Regions from separate parts of the Homo sapiens genome. Here region 1 is linked to region 2. The links are contacts of gene promoters, found by promoter capture Hi-C in blood cells and fetal thymus (Javierre and others, 2016). All regions are on one chromosome and are shown on one strand. Each heading gives the region's core, a stretch centred on a gene start or on the middle of the fragment in contact. The rest is flanking DNA. Distances are from core to core; before and after follow the strand shown.

Region 1 (3,787 bases), core at 847-3,346, 130 kb after region 2:
AGAGGAAAGATTACTACAAGATTCTAGGAGTGGACAAGAATGCCTCTGAGGACGAGATCAAGAAAGCTTATCGGAAACGGGCCTTGATGCACCATCCAGGTAGAGTAGGTGCGGGGAGTGGGCTCAGTGGGAAGAACCCGCAGGGCAGGCCAACTGCCACACTCAGTCCAGAGGGGACCCCTTGGAGAGGTCCTTCAGCTGAGAATAAGGTGTTGCAGACTTGTGGACCCTCCAAATTTTGGGAAGTGCCAAATTCCAAAATTAGACAGAAAGTAGTTTTTCTCTTAAACTTTGTTTTCTTGAAACTTTGATTTCCACTGAGTTGTTCTTTTACTCCCCACTTTAGATCGGCATAGTGGAGCCAGTGCTGAGGTTCAGAAGGAGGAGGAGAAGAAGTTCAAGGAAGTTGGAGAGGCCTTTACTATCCTCTCTGATCCCAAGAAAAAGACTCGCTATGACAGTGGACAGGACCTAGATGAGGAGGGCATGAATATGGGTGGTGAGTTGGCTGGGGCAGCCTGGGATGAATTTGACAGCTGTAGAATGTTAGAATTTTTTCCAAAGATGCTCCAGAGGGAGAGTCTATTTGGGCCAAATCTGATCCCTGGTCCAAACAGTAATAGACATGGAGTCAAACAAATGCAGTCAAATGTGGCAGGTTCACAGTGTGCAGTGAGCTCTGAGGAGGCGAGCACTAGCAAGGGAAGGCTTGGAAGTGCAGAAAAGCATGGCCCCATGGGTCATGCCTGTAATCCCAGCACTTTGGGAGGCCAAGGCAAGCAGATCACTTGAGGTCAGGAGTTTGAGACCAGCCTGGCCAACATGGTGAAACCCTGTCTCTACTAAAAATACAAAAATTAGGCTGGGCGCGGTGGCTCATGCCTGTAATCTCACCACTTTGTGAGGTCAAAGCAGGTTGATCACCAGGTCAGGAGTTTGAGACCAGCCTGGCCAACATGGTGAAACCTCGTCTCTACTAAAATACAGAAATTAGCCAGGTGTGGTGGTGGGCGCCTGTAATCCCAGCTACTCGGGAGGCCGAGGCATGAGAATCGCTTGCACCCAGGAGGCGGAGGTTGCAGTGAGCCGAGATTGTCCCACTGTACTCCATCCTGGGCGACAGAGCAAGACTTTGTCTCAATTAAAAAAAATAATAAGAAGAAAGAAAAAAGAAAAATTAGCCAGGTGTGGTGGTGCACACCTGTAATCCCAGCTACTTGAACCCGGGAGGTGGAGGTTGCAGTGAGCCAAGATGGCGCTACTGCACTCCAGCCTGGGCAACAGAGTGAGACTCCATCCCTCCCCACTAAAAAAGCAAAGCATGGCCTCTTTGGGGATCTGCAGGGGGCTTGGTCTAGGGAAGATAAAGGGATAGGGTGCTAGAGGCAGGTGGTGGTGGAAGGCCGGCAAGTAGCTGGATCAGAGCTCACAGGCCATAAGGGCTGTATGTGGTAAGGAATATGAGCATTTTCCTATTATCTGGAAGTTCTTTTTTACCCACTGCAAAGTGTATGCTGACATTTATGTATGTCATACATTCCTATAAACACTCACAGATTTTAATTTCCCAAAAAGATTTAGCATGATATAAAGCACACCTATTGTCAATATTGTTGCTCACTGTGGGCTGTCAGAGATAAGAGGCCCTGACCTGTGAGCTGGGCGCGGTGGCTTACGCCTGTAATCCCAGCACTTTGGGAAGCCAAGGCGGGCAGATCACCTGAGCTCAGGAGTTCAAGACCACCCTGGGCAACATACAAAATACCAAAAAAATTGTACTCTCTACTAAAATACAAAAAAATTAGCTGAGCATGGTGGTGCATGCCTGTGGTCCAAGCTACTCAGGAGACTGAGGCACCAAAAACTCTTGAGCCCAGGAGGCAGAGGTTGCAGTGAGCTGAGATTGCGCCACTGTACTCCAGCTTGGGTTACAGAGTGCGACTCCATCTCAAAAATTAATTAATTAATTCAGTCAGTCTTCACTCTAAGTTGTCTGCCAAAAAATTTGCTGGGCATGGTGGCTCACGCCTGTAATCCCATCACTTTGGGAGAACAAGGTGGGCGGACCACAAGGTCAAGAGATTGAGACCATCCTGCCCAACATGGTGAAACCCCGTCTCTATGAAAAATACAAAAATTAGCTAGCCATGGTGGCGCACGCCTGTAGTCCCAGCTACTTGGGAGGCTGAGGCAGGAGAATCGCTTGAACTCGGGAGGCGGAGGTTGCAATGAGCTGAGATCGCACCACTGCACTCCAGCCTGGCGACAGAGCAAGACTTGTCTCAAAAAAAAAAAAAAAAAGAGGACCTGACCTGTGAATGGTGAACAGACCTACCATCTCTTCCACTAAGAAAATCTATTGGGATTTTGTTTTTTGTTTTGTTTTGTTTTTTGAGACGGAGTCTTGCTGTGTCACCCAGGCTGGAGTGCAGTGGCACCATCTCGACTCACTGCAACCTCCGCCTCCAGGGTTCAAGTGATTCTTCTGCCTCAGCCTCCCGAGTAGCTGGGACTACAGGTGTGCGCCACCACGCCCAGCTAATTTTTGTATTTTAAGTAGAGACGGGGTTTTACCATATTGGCCAGGCTGATCTGGAACTCCTGACTTCGTGATCCACCCACCTCGGCCTCCCAAAGGGCTGGAATTACAGGCGTGAGCCACCGCGCCCGGCCTTTTTTTTTTTTTTTTTTTTTTTAAGACTGAGCCCAGTCTGGGTGCAGTAGTGCCATCTTGGCTCACTGCAACCTCTGCCTCCAGGGTTCAAGCAATTCTCCTGCCTCAGCCTCCTGAGCAGCTGGGATTACAGGCATCCACCCCCATGCCTAGCTAATTTTTATATTTTTAGTAGAGACAGGGTTTCACCATGTTGGCCGGGCTGGTCTTGAACTCCTGACCGCAAGTGATCTACTGGCCTTGGCCTCCCAAAGTGCTGGGATTACAGGCGTGAGCCACTGTGCCTGGCCTTCCATTGCAACTTATTTATTTATTTAATTTTTTTTTGTTGTTATGTTTTTGAGACATGGTCTTACTCTGTCACCCAGGCTGGTGTGCAGTGGTGCAGTCTCAGCTCACGGCAACCTCCACCTCCCAGGTTCAAGAAATTCTCCTGCCTCAGCCTCCTGAGTAGCTGGGATTACAGGCACCTGCAGCCACACCCGGCTAATTTTTATATTTTTAGTAGAGACGGGGTTTCACCATGTTGGCCAGGCTGGTCTCAAACTCCTGACTTTGTGTGATCCGCCCATCTTGGCCTCCCAAAGTGTTGGGATGACAGGCGTGAGCCACCGCACCCAGCCGGAATTTAAAATAAGAATGATGGTACTATATAGATAATGCTGAGTCCTCTCCAGTTCAGTGTGGGGGTATTTGTGTTTAATAAACCTAGGTTCACCACAATAAACATGTTCCTCTGCCTAGCAGTTAAGAAGATCTATAAGCAGTCAAAAACTAGTGAAGAGGTTTTGTTTTGTTTTGAGACGGAGTCTCACTCTGTCGCCCAGGCTGGAGTGCAGTGGCGCGATCTCTGCTCACTGCAAGCTCCGCCTCCCGGGTTCACGCCATTCTCCTGCCTTAGCCTCCCAAGTAGCTGGGACTACAGGCACCTGCCACCACGCCCGGCTAATTTTATTTTATTTTATTTTTATTTTTATTTTTTTTAGTAGAGACGGGGTTTCACTTTGTTAGCCAGGATGATCTCGATCTCCTGACCTCGTGATCCACCCACCTTGGCCTCCCAAAGTGCTGGGATTACAGGCCTGAGCCACCACGGCCAGCCGTGAAGTTTTA
Region 2 (3,869 bases), core at 505-3,004:
GGGTAGTGGGGGCACGATGCTTGGGGTGTGGACTGGCATTCTTAGAGACATTCTCCCACTTCCCACTTTGCAGGAGAGACAGGCTGGAAGCCATTGGGGAAGGAGAAGGGGTGAGTGTCAAAGGAGCCGGGTTGGGGGTGGGGCAGAGGGACTTGGAGCCTCAGACTTGGTGTCTCTCGCCCCAGGAAGGAGCTGAAGGACCCCGACCAGCTCTACACAACCCTCAAAAACCTGCTGGCCCAAATCAAGGTGGGGAGACCAGGTTTCCTTTCCAGGGCCCCTGCACCAATGGCTGTGGCCTCTTGATGCAGTGTGGGGTGGGTAGTGGTCTCGGGCTGGCGTGGGCGCAGCAGGGCTGTCCCCAGCCCGGCTCTTCTCTCCAGTCTCACCCCAGTGCCTGGCCCTTCATGGAGCCTGTGAAGAAGTCGGAGGCCCCTGACTACTACGAGGTCATCCGCTTCCCCATTGGTGAGGACCTTCCATTCCATCCCCTTCCCTCCTCTTCTGTCCCCACACCTGCTCCTGCCCTCACTGCGCCCTGCAGCCCCAGGGGGCCCACCCTGGTGGACAGCCCTGCCGTGGTCTTCAGCCTCTTAAAGCTGTGCTCCGTCTCCTGCTGCCCCAGACCTGAAGACCATGACTGAGCGGCTGCGAAGCCGCTACTACGTGACCCGGAAGCTCTTTGTGGCCGACCTGCAGCGGGTCATCGCCAACTGTCGCGAGTACAACCCCCCGGACAGCGAGTACTGCCGCTGTGCCAGCGCCCTGGAGAAGTTCTTCTACTTCAAGCTCAAGGAGGGAGGCCTCATTGACAAGTAGGCCCATCTTTGGGCCGCAGCCCTGACCTGGAATGTCTCCACCTCGGATTCTGATCTGATCCTTAGGGGGTGCCCTGGCCCCACGGACCCGACTCAGCTTGAGACACTCCAGCCAAGGGTCCTCCGGACCCGATCCTGCAGCTCTTTCTGGACCTTCAGGCACCCCCAAGCGTGCAGCTCTGTCCCAGCCTTCACTGTGTGTGAGAGGTCTCCTGGGTTGGGGCCCAGCCCCTCTAGAGTAGCTGGTGGCCAGGGATGAACCTTGCCCAGCCGTGGTGGCCCCCAGGCCTGGTCCCCAAGAGCTTTGGAGGCTTGGATTCCTGGGCCTGGCCCAGGTGGCTGTTTCCCTGAGGACCAGAACTGCTCATTTTAGCTTGAGTGATGGCTTCAGGGGTTGGAAGTTCAGCCCAAACTGAAGGGGGCCATGCCTTGTCCAGCACTGTTCTGTCAGTCTCCCCCAGGGGTGGGGGGTATGGGGACCATTCATTCCCTGGCATTAATCCCTTAGAGGGAATAATAAAGCTTTTTATTTCTCTGTGTGATTGTTTCTTTGGTGTAGTCCCAGCCTTAGCAGGCTCACCTTGGCCCCCAGGGACCTCTTGCAAACTGGAGGCTGCTCTCCCCAGCAAGCCTCAGGCCTGGTCCTGTGCTCCTGGGGTGATGGGTCCTACCTGCCTGCAGCCCCCCACCTCTCCCTCCTCCAGGCTGCTCCTGATCCAGATGCCAGGGCAGCAGGGGTCAGAACCTCCTGCCTTCACCTTAACCTGGGTGGATGTGGTTACAACTGACTGCAGAAGGGCCAGAGCGTAGAGGATCCTGTAGCACTGAAAGAGTGCTTCCCTGTTAGCACACGTGGTTCTTTTTCTTGGGGCAGGGATAGGAGATTCGTAAGTCGGCTCAGCTGGCTCCTCCCCTCAGTTTCAGTTTCCATTTCTGATTTCTGCTCTCTGCGCTGAGCACAGCGGCACCAGGCTGAGCTAAGCAGGGCCGCCTTGGGCAGGCCTACGTGGTGGTGCAGGCGAGACCCAGGCTGGGCAAGGCGCAGGTGTAGCCTGTGTTACTCCCACCCCCCCCCACCCCCACCTTTTGGCCACAGCAGGCTTCTGATGAGTTTTGAGGGTGTCCCCCCCCCCACCTCCCTCAAGTGGGGTGGAGTCCTGGGCAAAGGGAGGTCTCTGTACCGACTGCTCTGGCCAGGAGTTGGGATGAGTGGAGGGCCCAGTGGGTCTGAGTCCCCTGCCATTCCCAGAATGGAGCTGTGGCCCTACCAATGGGAGGTGATCATGCCTGCCAGGGCGCTGGCGCAGCAGCAGTACTTAACCGGAGTTTGTACTCACGGCAGTTGGCGATGACTGTTAGCACAAACGGTTCTTTTCTCTTGGTTCTTTTTCCTGGGGCGGGGATGGGAGATTCCTAAGTCGGCTCAGCTGGCTCCTTCCCTCAGTTTCAGTTTCCATCTTGGGTCTCTGAGCTGAGCAGAGTGGCACCAGGCTGAGTTAAGTGGGACTGCCCTGGGCAGACCTACCTACTAGAGCAGGTGAGTCCTGGGCTGGGCAGGGGGCAGGTGTAGCCTGTGTTACTCCCGCCTCCCCCTTTTGGGCAGAGCAGGGTCCTGATGGGTTCTGAGGGAGTCCTGCCCCACCTCCCTCAAGTGGGGTGGAGTCCTGGGCAAAGGGAGGTCTCTGTACTGACTGGTCTGGCCAGGAGTTGGGAGGGGTGGAGGAGTCGGTGGGTCTGAGTCCCCTGCCATTCCCAGAATGGAGCTTCGGTCCTACCAATGGGAGGTGATCATGCCTGCCCTGGAGGGCAAGAATATCATCATCTGGCTGCCCACGGGTGCCGGGAAGACCCGGGCGGCTGCTTATGTGGCCAAGCGGCACCTAGAGACTGTGGATGGAGCCAAGGTGGTTGTATTGGTCAACAGGGTGAGTGGTCTGTCCCTACCCCGCTCTCCCACCACCAAGCAGGGTCTTAGCTCTTCAGGCATCTCCCAGTCCCCACCAGAACTCCAAAGCTGCTGTGGCCATCGCTAAGCTCACCTGTCTTTCCACCCTGGCTCAGTACCCAGCCATGTCCTGCGGGTCACCTTACCGCCTCCCTACCCCTGGCCCCAGATTCAGCTCTCTTTTCCCAGCTCATTCTCCACCCCCAGGTGCACCTGGTGACCCAGCATGGTGAAGAGTTCAGGCGCATGCTGGATGGACGCTGGACCGTGACAACCCTGAGTGGGGACATGGGACCACGTGCTGGCTTTGGCCACCTGGCCCGGTGCCATGACCTGCTCATCTGCACAGCAGAGCTTCTGCAGATGGCACTGACCAGCCCCGAGGAGGAGGAGCACGTGGAGCTCACTGGTGAGGGCCATGGCCGGGAGGAAAAAGATACGCATCTGGGGTACCTCCTTTCGCCAACCCCAGGGCACCTCCTGGAGTCAAGGTGTTGGGAGTTTTAGTGGGAGTGAGGGGTTGCCTGTTCACAAAACCCCTGCAGGCACTCTAGTAGAAACAGGCCGGGCTATCGTGTAGGATCTTAGGCCAGTCCCTTCCCCAGCTGAGCCTCGGTTTACTAATCTGTGAAATGGAAAGAAGTCTTCCCTGCCTGGCTCCTCATCCTGGGACCAGCTGCAGGTTGTGAAGGGAAGAAGGAATTCTTACATCATTGTGGGGACTACTTGAAAGCTGATGGGAGGAAGGGCTTTGCAAACATAGGTCACAGCCTTCCCCCCTGTGCCCTCAGTCTTCTCCCTGATCGTGGTGGATGAGTGCCACCACACGCACAAGGACACCGTCTACAACGTCATCATGAGCCAGTACCTAGAACTTAAACTCCAGAGGGCACAGCCGCTACCCCAGGTGCTGGGTCTCACAGCCTCCCCAGGCACTGGCGGGGCCTCCAAACTCGATGGGGCCATCAACCACGTCCTGCAGGTCAGCCTGGCCCCTGTGGGCCTCCCACTGCCAGACCCACCAGGGACTTCCCTCCCTCCCTGCCTGCCCTGCCACTACCCCGTCCCCACCAGCCCTACCAGGCTCTCCATGGCAGGGTCTGGCC

Evidence for each region. Contacts are between HindIII fragments. The CHiCAGO score rates a contact against its expected background, and 5 or more counts as called.
Region 1: a fragment that was not itself captured here is called in contact with the fragment with the promoter of DHX58 in region 2 in 2 of 17 cell types (monocytes and M1 macrophages); the score reaches 6.0 in monocytes.

What each region holds. Positions count from the first base shown.
Region 1 is chr17:41,978,567-41,982,353 of GRCh38, reverse strand. DNAJC7 (DnaJ heat shock protein family (Hsp40) member C7) reads left to right here. Exons shown (of 14, transcript NM_003315.4): 11 at 1-99; 12 at 347-499. Among named protein-coding and RNA genes, the nearest start is that of CNP, 14 kb to the right of the region's middle. The HindIII fragment of the contact is 4,055 bases long and covers 69-3,787 here.
Region 2 is chr17:42,110,599-42,114,467 of GRCh38, reverse strand. DHX58 (DExH-box helicase 58) reads left to right here and starts at 1,754. Exons shown (of 14, transcript NM_024119.3): 1 at 1,754-1,863; 2 at 2,263-2,355; 3 at 2,575-2,743; 4 at 2,971-3,172; 5 at 3,555-3,745. The coding sequence starts at 2,576. KAT2A (lysine acetyltransferase 2A) reads left to right here. Exons shown (of 18, transcript NM_021078.3): 15 at 74-110; 16 at 186-249; 17 at 384-468; 18 at 626-1,357. The coding sequence ends at 819. RefSeq lists enhancers at 1,387-1,906, 2,147-2,246. The HindIII fragment of the contact is 8,851 bases long and covers 1,343-3,869 here.